2 separate regions of the Homo sapiens genome follow, and region 1 is linked to region 2. The links are contacts of gene promoters, found by promoter capture Hi-C in human tissues and cell types (Jung and others, 2019). All regions are on one chromosome and are shown on one strand. The core of a region is centred on a gene start or on the middle of the fragment in contact, and the rest is flanking DNA. Distances in the headings are between cores, read along the strand shown.

Evidence for each region. Contacts are between HindIII fragments. The study calls those that stand out against the background at their distance.
Region 1: a contact is called between a fragment that was not itself captured here and the fragment with the promoter of WDR88 in region 2, in 2 of the 25 tissues and cell types used here (H1 embryonic stem cells and mesendoderm cells).

The regions. Positions count from the first base shown.
Region 1 is chr19:33,045,225-33,050,801 of GRCh38, reverse strand. The region is part of intron 1 of RHPN2 (rhophilin Rho GTPase binding protein 2); the gene reads left to right. Among named protein-coding and RNA genes, the nearest start is that of RHPN2, 17 kb to the left of the region's middle. RefSeq lists an enhancer at 1,804-2,522. The HindIII fragment of the contact is 8,752 bases long and covers 1-5,577 here.
Region 2 is chr19:33,129,982-33,134,786 of GRCh38, reverse strand. It overlaps WDR88 (WD repeat domain 88), which reads right to left and starts at 2,673. Exons shown (of 11, transcript NM_173479.4): 1 at 2,342-2,673. The coding sequence starts at 2,617. It overlaps GPATCH1 (G-patch domain containing 1), which reads right to left. Exons shown (of 20, transcript NM_018025.3): 20 at 4,245-4,657. The coding sequence ends at 4,627. RefSeq lists a silencer at 1-29 and an enhancer at 2,667-2,836. The HindIII fragment of the contact is 34,056 bases long and covers 1-4,805 here.

The DNA.
Region 1 (5,577 bases), core at 1,998-4,497, 85 kb after region 2:
GAGGCTGAGGCAGGAGAATCGCTTGAGCCCGGGAGGTGGAGTTTGCAGTGAGCCGAGTTCACGCCACTGTGCTCCAGCCCGGGCAACAAGAGCGAAACTCTGTCTAAAAAAACAAAAAAAGGAACAAACTACTGGTAAATGAAACAGCATGGGTGAATCTGAAAACATGGTATTGAGCAAAATAAACCAGACATAAAAGTCTACATCCTATCTGATTACATTTACATAGTTCAAAAGCAGACAAAAATATGTGGTGATAGAAATCAGAGTATTGGTTGCCTGGGGATGATGGAAATGTTCTGTGTTCTGTATTTTGATAGGAGTGATGGTTACGCAGGTTTATATGTTTGTTCAAACTCATTGAACTATATACTTAAAATATGTGTATTTTATTATATATAAATTGTATCTCAATTCAGAAAATTGAGATACAAAGAAGGGAATGAATTGGTTGCTGTAAATGAAAAGTACAGAGGGATGGCTTCAGGCCTAGCTTGATCCAGGGCTCAGATGACATCGCCAAATCTGTTTCTCAGCTCAGCCCACCTGGGGTTGGTTCCCTGTCTAGGGAGACACTCTTCTGCTGGTGGTAAGGTGGCTGCAACTGCTCAGTGTCACAGCCTCCCAGGTTCAAGGCCAATGAGGACCTCTTCCTGATGGGTTTCGATTGACCCTGATCTTCAGGCTTTGGTTTTCCAATGGGCCAGGCAGAAGTCAGATGTTCTTCCCTTTGGAAAGGATGTTGGGGGAGCATGGATTTACACACACACCCCTGCCCCCCACCAGGCCATCATGGGCTATGAGGCGGGAGAGTGGGCTGGCATCACTGTTCCCCCAAAAGATGTGGGGTGATGGTGGGCAGCCATCACCCATGAAGGGGTGTCTGGGGGTTGCATGCATTCCTACCGCTCACACCGCCTCACCGCTCATCCTGGAGCAGCAGGAAGGACAGGGTCTTAAATCCCACCCCAACTTTTACTGCCTGCCTCTAGGATCTCAAGTTGCTCATATAGCCTCCTTGCTGCAGAACCATGGGATCCGAGATGCTGTACCAGGGTCCACATAAGCGGGCCGACCCCAGGAGTTGCCTGTAAAGCTGGTGATGACACGGGGGTTCACTCAGTACTTGCTTTTCTTGGGTGTTGGCTGTTTGCCCACTCTTCAAGTTTCGGGACTGACGGAAATGTCCGAACCTTAGTGTGGGAAGGGAATAGACTCTGTGGAGGAGAAAGTCTCACTTCACTGTAGAACTTGTCAACAGCAGATCCCGAGGTCAGGACAGCTCAGTTGGCCCCACAGGTGTGAGAGGTTTAGCCCCAGTCCCTGGTGCAAACCCTCACTCCAGTCTCAGAGCGGCTTTGTGTTCTGTTGAGAACCAATCCCTGTCTCTGAGTTGCAGAGGCTATTCTGGAAGCTGTTTGTTCAGGGCTAAGGTCTCGTTATTACACAAGATAGGGGGTGGGGTGAGAAATGTATGGGTGGGGATGGTGGACCCGCCACCTTGTCCCCTACAGAGCAGCCCCTGGCAGGGGCTAGTAGATGGCCAATAGTTTCTGGTGATGCCAGGGAGTCTTTCTGACAGTCTTGTCCAGATTTACCTCTCAGGGAAGTTTCCACACACAGCCCCGTGGGTGTTTCTTGTGTTCCCCAGCAAAGCCCAACATTCCTACCTGTCAGGAATAAGTAATGTGGTTTCGGGCCCAATTACTCAGTCAAATCTAACCCTAAGTGTTCCTATGCCTTATCTAGAAACCTGACCACATATCTATGGGCTGGTTAGGGCGTACTGATTCCAGGCCAGCAGAAGTTGGGGAAAGTATACGAACAGAAAAAAAAACATTCTTATCCGTAGTTTGGAATGGCTGCTTATCTGAGCTCTGGGAATGTACGTAAAGGAATTAGTTATTCAAGCTTCCCTGTAAAATGAAACACAGCAGTGGTGATCCAGGTAATTCAGAGTCAAACTGAATCGTCGTCATTTTTGGAAGTGGAAAGGAAAGAGATGAACAGTTATTTTAGTTATTTAATATTTAATTATAATAGCTTAACATTAAAGTTTTTTTTTTTTTTTTTTTTGAGACTGAGTCTCGCTGTGTCACCCAGGCTGGAGTGCAGTGGTGTTATCTTGGCTCACTGCAACCTCTGCCTCCCGGGTTCAAGTGATTCTCCTGCCTCAGCCTCCAGAGTAGCTGGGATTATAGGCGCATGCCACTACGCCCAGCTAATTTTTATATTTTTAGTAGAGACAGGGTTTCACCATGTTGGCCAGGCTGTTCTCGAACTCCTGTCCTCAGGTGATCTACCCGCCTCAGCCTCCCAAAGTGCTGGGATTACAGGCGTGAACTACTATGCCCGGCCAAAGATATTTTAATCTTAAATCTGAAGAAAGACAAAATTGGAAACCGTTTAATGCTTTAAACGATATTAATTTTAAAATCCATTCCAGGGCTGGATGCCATGGCTCATGCCTGTAATCCCAGCACTTTGGGAGGCCGAGGCGGGTGGATCACCTGAGGTCAGGAGTTCGAGACCAGCCTGGCCAACACGGTGAAACCCCATCTCTACTAAAAATAGAAAGATTAGCTGGGTGTGGTGGTGGGTGCCTGTAATTCCAGCTACTCAGCAGGCTGAGGCAGGATAATCACTTGAACCCAGGAGGCAGAGGCTGTACTGAGCTGAGATCGTACCACTGCACTCCAGCCTGTCTACAGAAGCCAACTCGAATTCCGAATATCTGTGCAATTTGAACTTGGGGGAAAGTGTCCTTGCGAGACAGGGAAAATTAGGTTGTGGGGCTATGTGGGGGATGGGTGGTGGTGACCTGATGGGAAATGAGAATGAGAAGTCTTTTATTTTTATTATTATTTAAAAATTTTTATTATTATTTGTAGAGACAGAGTCTCACTCTGTTATCCAGGCTGGAGTGCAGTGGCGCAATTGTAGCTCACCGCAGCCTCAAACTCCTGGCCTCAAGCGATCCTCTGGCCTCAGCCTCTCAAAGTGCTTGGGATTACAGTTGTGAGCTACCATGACCATTCTGGCCAAGAATGAGAAATCTCTGTGGAAGGAGAATACTGGGATTCCTGAGGAGGTTTCCGCTATAGATAACTCACATCTCCCTCCCTGGGGTCCAGGCCATGGGTGTGGCTTGGGCAGAGGTCGGAGAGGCCAGGTGTGTGCAGGCCTGAGATGTGACTCAGGGAGAGAGAAAGGGCAGTCTCTTCACCACGTAATACTACCCGCCAGACCGCTCCCAGGGAGTAACCGCAGTGGGCAGGACCTAGAGATAAGCGGCAAAGAGGAATGTGGGCGTATCCCAGGTCCTGAGGCTTCTACCTGTCTGGGGTGGGAAGAACACCATTCAGCTAAAATGCAGCTTTTATTCTGATCTTAAACTTTTAGCGTGAAGCGTTGTAATCCAAATACCCCAGGGCACAATGGTCAGAGAACACAGACAATTTGTTGAAAAAGAAATTAAAGTGTCAAGATTATATGGAAAAACCTTTACCTTCACTGTTATAATAAACATACAAATTAGAAGAATGAGCTATCTATTTTTGCATGTCAACTTGACAGAAATTAAAAATAATTTTCAACCAGACAGATAAAAAGACAATCCAGTTTAAAACTGGGCAAAGGAGAGCTGGGTGTGGTGGCTCACACCTGTAAGACTAGCACTTTGGGAGGCCAAGATGGGCAGATCACTTGAGGTCAGGAATTCAAGACCAGCCTGGCAAAAAAATGGTGAAACCTTGTCTCTACCAAAAAATGGAACAATTAGCCGGACGTGGTGGCATGCACCTGTAGTCCCAGCTGCTCAGGAGGCTGAGGCAGGAGAATCACTTGAACCCAGGAGGTGAAGGTTGCAGTGAGCCAAGATCATACCACTGCAGCAGTCCAGTCTGGGTGACAGACTGAGACCCTGTTTCAAAAAAAAAAAATGGGCAAAGGATCTGAATTGATATTTCTTCGAAGAAGATATACAGTTGGCCAATAAGTTCATGAAAAGATATTCAACATCATTAACTGTCAGGGAGACACAATTCAAAACCACGATGTGAGACAGCACACACATAAGGTAGCTGTAATAAAAAAGATAGACCAGCACCTGTATTGGTGAGATGTAGATGAATTGGAACTCTCATCCTGTTAGTTGGGTTGTAAAATTGTATAACCACTTTGAAGAGCCTGATAGTTCCTCAAATCATTAAACATAGAATAAATCATATGATCTAGACCGGGCTCAGTGGCTCACGCCTGTAATCCCAGCATATTGGGAAGCCAAGCCAAGCGGATCACTTGAGGTCAGGAGTTTGAGATCACCCTGGCCAACATCATGAAACCCGCCTCTCTACTAAAAATACAAAAATTATCTGGTCATGGTGGTGCACGCCTGTAATCCCAGCTACCCGGGAGGCTGAAGCAGGAGAATCGTTCGAACCTGGGAGACAGAGGTTGCAATGAGCCGAGATCGAGCCACTGCACTCAAGCCTGGACGACAGAACAAGCCTCTGTCTCAAAAAAACAGAATCAAAAATAAAAACAAAACAAAAAAACCACCTGATCTAGACATTTTATTTCTATATTTATAGCCAAGAGAAACAAAAGCACATATCCATATAAAACCTTGTACGCACATAAACAGCCTTATTCGTAATAGTCAAAAAGTGAAAACACTCCCCATGCCCATTGTATGATGAATGATGAATGGATAAAGTACACAAGTGTGGTGTATCTATGTAATGAAATCTTATTCAGGGACAAAAACGGACAAAGTTCTGATACATGCTACAACCTGGATAAACCTTGAGAACATCATGGCAAATGAAAGAAGCCAGATGCAAAGGCCACATATTATATGATTCCGTTTATATGAAATAATCTTGAATAAGCAAACCTGTAAAGACAGAAAGTAGATTGGTGGTTGCCTAGGGCTGGGGTTAAGGGGAAAAGGAAATGAGGAGCGATGCTAATGGCTACTTGCTTTTTTTTTAGGCTGATGAAAATGTTCTAAAATCAGATAGTGGTTGATGGGCGTGGTGGCTCGCGCCTGTAATCCCAGCACTTTGGGGGGCTGAGGTAGGCAGATCACTTGAGGTTAGGAGTTCAGGACCAGCCTGGCCAACATGGCGAAACCCTGTCTCTACTAAAAATACAAAAATTAGCCAGGCGTGGTGGTGGGCACCTGTAATTCCAGCTACTCGGGAGGCTGAGGCAGGAGAATCACTTGAACCTGGGAGGCAGAGGTTGCAGTGAGCCGAGATTGTGCCACTGCACTGCAGCCTGGATGACACAGCAAGACTCCATCTAAAAAAAAAAAATCAGATAGCACTGATGGTTCTGTAACTCCTGAATATACTAAAAACCAATGAATTGTTTATTTTAAAAGGGCAAAACGTATGGTATATGGATTATATCTCCATAAAGCTGTTACTAAATAAAAAAAGTAGGCCAGGCGCAGTGGCTCACACCTGCCATCCCAGCCCTTTGGGGAGGCCAAGGCAGGTGGATCACTTGAAGTCAAGAGTTCAAGACGAGCCTGGGCAACATGGCGAAACCCTGTGTCTACTAAAAATA
Region 2 (4,805 bases), core at 1,424-3,923:
GGGGCTCGGGGACACGAGGACACTGGAACGCGGGCTCCGTTGCCAGGGAGCGTGGAGAGCTGGGACCGGGCTTTTCTCCGGGGGAGTTCGCTAACCCCGTCGGGCCAGGCCGGGGCCGCGCGTGCAGGGTTGGCTCCCTACCCCAGGAGCGGCCCCAGTCCCCGGGACATGACCTGCGCGGCCCTCCCGCACCGCCCCCGCCTCTGGCGACCCCAGCCCCTGCCGCCCCTGCAGGGTTTGGGTTATCTCTCTCATTAGGAAAACCCAACTATCATTAAAAATTGAAATTAAATTGGCTGGGTGCAGTGGCTCACGCATGCAATTCCAGTGCTTTGGGAGGCCCAGGAGTGAGGATTGCTTGAGGCCAGGAGTTTAAGACCAGCCTGGGCAACATGGCGAGACTCCCCCTCTCTACAAAAAAAATCAAAATTAAAATTAATAATTTAAAAAATATATAATTTAATTTAAAAAATAGGAAAACAAAAAACCTAGAACTCCATCATGGAAAAACATTAGCAAGAGGGGGGAACCATTCCGCTACCCCCACCACAGGCTTTTCTGGGGCTCTCGTTTCAGGTTTTTTTCTGCACACAGTCCCTTGGGATCCACTAGGTAAAGGGGTCCCAGGGGCTGCAGAGAGAAGTCCCCAACACATGAGTACATTTCAGAGGTGCTGACAAAGCTCATGCAGAGGACAGAGCAAAAACAAAACGGTTCTTCTATGCGTAGCGTTCATTCACATATTCCACAAATAAACCTCAAGAGCCTCCTCCCCCATGGGGCCTGGACCTGATGCTGCAGCTCAGCAGCCACCTAGGAGCAAAGTCCCTAACCTCGAGGGGCCAGTTGCTGGCAGCCAGAGGACACCTTGAGGACGGAACGGGGATGTCAGACCATGGCATGAGGCACGGAGGAGACAGTGGCCCTGGCTACTTTAGACGGGCGGTCAGGGAGGGCCTCCCCAAGAGCGCAATACCGTGGGGGCAGGGAACCGCCAAGATCCCTGAGGCCAGACCTGCTTGTAGGTCAGCAAGACAGGGGGATGGGGGAGGAGAACATGGAGAGGTGCCAGATTTGAAATGGCCTGGAAGGCCACAGGCAGATCGCCAGACTTCATCTTAAACATGCTGGGAAGCCAGGCAGAGGTTTCGAGGAAATTATTAAAAACACACTCTGACATCTGCATGTGAGTGCAATAAATCAAGGCCAAGCATGAAACGCTACTTATTGAGAATGTTCTTTATTGGGTTTTTGTTTTGTTTTGTTTTTGAGATGGAGTGAGATGATCTCAGCTCACTGCAACCTCTGCCTCCCGGGTTCAAATGATCTTGCTGCCTCAGCCTCCTGAGTAGCTGGGATTACAGGCACGCACCACCATGCCTGGCTAATTTTTGCATTTTTAGTAGAGAAAGGGTTTCACCATGTTAGCCAGGCTGGTCTCGAACCCTTGACCTCAAGTGATCTGCTCATCTCGGCTTCCCAAAGTGCTGGGATTACAGACATGAGCCACTGCACCCAGCCAGTTTTTCTTTCTTTCTCCTTCTTTCTTTCTTTTTCTTTTTCTTTCTTTCTTTCTCTCTCTCTCTCTATATTTATTTATTTATTTATTTATTTATTTATTTATTTATTCTGGAGACAGTCTCGCTCTGTTGCCCAGGCTGGAGTGCAGTGGCACAATCATAGCTCACTGCAGCCTTAAACTCCTGGGTTCAAGGGATCCTCTTGCCTCAGCCTTTCAAGTGGCTGGGACCACAGGTGCGCCCCATCACACTGGGCTAAGTTTATTTCTTGTAGAGACGACCTCTCACTATGTTGCCCAGGCTGGTCTCAAACTCCTGGGCTCAAGTGATCCTCCCACCTGGGCCTCCCAAAGGGCTGGGATTACAGGTGTGAGCCACCTTGCCTGGCCCAATTCATTGTTGTTATTATTATTCTGAGTTTCCCGTTTCTTCTGACGCTAACTGTATCTCCTGGACGGGGAGAGCTGAGCCACCGACCCTTGGGCTGCAATTAGGAGCATCACTGTGGGTGGGCCTACCTACGGAGACTCCAAGGTCTAGATGGGGTCACATGGTGGGGCAGAGCCTCCTCCCAGCGAAGAGTCCTGGTTCCCCAGCAGGTGGCAGTGCGGGGAGCCCCCGCCGGCATCCCCAGCACGCCCTGCTCAGGTGGGTCTGACCTTTGCCCACAGATGTACCACAGATGGGGAAATGGGCCTAGGGCCTCGCTGGGGGTCCTGGTGAAGCCAGGTGGGTTTTCCATGGGTCCCCCGACAGCTCGAGCGCCTTCCTCCCGTGTGGGGAACAGGCCAGTGCCCCCTCACCCCAGCGGCGGTTCTGACCTTGGAGAGAGGGTCCTGGTCGCCCCAGATCAATTTCTCCGGCACCTGGTGCTTCTCAGGCAACAGATGCGGTGGTGGTTCCCTGTCCAAGGCCAGGGGGTCGAGGGTGGCCAGCAGGTGCGTGTGCGGGATCGACAGCTTGAAGCGGCCTAAGGCCCTCGCCATGGTCCCCCAGGACAGCTTGCCGGGACAATACTCGCTGGCGGGGGCGGAGGGTGGCGGCAACTTGCATTCCCTGTCATGGGCTGTCGGGGAGCACCGCGGCGGGGAGGCCATCTCGAAGCCCGGTCCGCCGGTGGCCGCCGACAAGCCTGGATGGGAACGGTGGCGCCGCGCGCCCGCGCCCGCGCCCGCACCAAGCCCTTCGGAGGCGCGCGCTACGCTGGGCCCGCGACTTCGCTGCCTCCTCGCCCGCTGGGTGAAAACTAGTGCCACCCCGCGCAGCACAGGTTACCTATAGAAAAATGGGCTTTGCAGCCGGGCGCGGTGGCTCACGCCTGTAATCCCGGCACTTTGGGAGGCCGAGGCGGGCGGATTACCTGAGGTCAGGAGTTGGAGACCAGCCTGGCCAACAGGTTTAGTGAAACCCCATCTTTACTTAAAAAAAATAATAACAAAAATTAGCCAGGCATGGGGGCGTGCGCCTGTAGTTCCAGCTACATGGGAGGCTGAGGCAGGGGAATGGCTTGAACCCAGGAGGTGGAGGTTGCAAAAAAAAGAAAAATGGGCTTTGCATTCTGGGAACCAGGCCGAGCCAGCAAAACCAGCACCCCAGCCTCCAGCCCTCCGCTGTGGTTTCCCTGGCTCCTGTCACAGGGCAATTTCTTCATGTCCTCTGCCTGGGTACAGCTCCTGGCCAACCCACTTCATGACAAAACAGAAAAGGTCAGTAAGTTATGGGGTAGCCCCTGCATGAAATAAGATGCAGTTATTAGGGGTGGGTTTACAACATTTATAATAGATGAGGGAAATATCTGTCACAACCCCAACAACAGTGACAGGGAATAAAATGCTACCACCAGTCAGATAACAGCCCCATAGCTAGAAAAGGACAGGGTGGAATTATTCAAAATATTGAAGAAGGGTGTCATCTTTGGATGATAAAACTAAAAGTGATTTTCTTCCTTCTTTTTTTTTTTTTTTTTTTTTGGTGGAGACAAGAGTCTGTCACCCAGGCTGGATTGCAGTAGCGCAATTTCGGCTCACTGCAACCTCCACCTCCAGGGTTCAAAGGATTCTCGTGCCTCAGCCTCCCACACAGCTGGGATTACAGGTGTATGCTCACCAGACCTGGCTAATTTTTTTGTATTTTTAGTAGAGACAAGGTTTCGCCATGTTGGCCAGGCTGTTTTTGAACTCCTGGCCTCAAGTGATCCGCTGGCCTCGGCCTCCCAAAGTGCTGGGATTACAAGCATGGGCCACCGCACCCGGCCTCTTCCTTCTTTCTGCTTTTAAAATTGTTGTGATCTATGATGCTACTTTCATAATGTAAAATACAAATGCTCAATACTTTATTTTTTGTGGAGACAGGGGTCTCTATGTGGCCCAGGCTGGTCTGGAATTCCTGGGCTCAAGCAATCCTCCCGCCTCGGCCTCCCAAAGCTCTGGGATTACAGGCATTAGCCATCACACCTGGTCTGCACTTTATTTTTCAAAAAGGTCTCCTTGGTACACATGAGGTGGCCTCAGAGCAGGGAGCTGCAGCCGTGTAACCCAGGCTGTGGGTGCACATTCTCCTGCCTGGTTTCCCTGCCTGTCTCAGACACTTTAGTGACATCTACCCTGAGAGGCTGAGGCCCCCTGCCAGGCCCTGGCTCTGCCCTCCCATGGGGCTTCCTGGGCACCAACAGTAACCCAGCCACCCAGAGAGGGAAGAGCTTCACTCCCAAAAAACGGCAGGAGGGGCCGCAACCGCCCCTTCTCACACGCTTGTCCTTCAGTGAGTCCAGGCTGTCTTCATCACAAAACCAGAGAGAAGCCTTCACTTTTAACTTCTTTTTTAACGTCCCAGGAAATTTTTTAAAAATCAAGAAGAAAATAGAAAAATTCCACTTTAATTAAACTGTTCAGTCTGGATTTTTTTCCCCCGATACTAACTGAAATTAAAAATAGAAATCAATTTCTGCGACCTTTCAAGGCAGTCTTTGAAATGTCAAGGTTTTAAAAATTATTTTACAGCAGGAATTTACATATAAATACACTCTGTACAATGCGTTAACTGAACAATCACTGGGCTTCCATCATGGAGGAGAAATGATTCTAGGACGAGCCAGGGCAGCATTCAATTACTGCCTTCTTAGTGGAAGACTTTTCAGCCTGGAAAAGAAAACAGAAAAGAGAGAAATGGAAAGTTAGCTAAAGTGAAAAACCAAACAGCTCCGTGGAGGCTGAGAATGCCAGGCCTCCCCATATCACAGCAGCATGTCTGCACCTACAAAATGCACTCACAATAACCCACAATGAA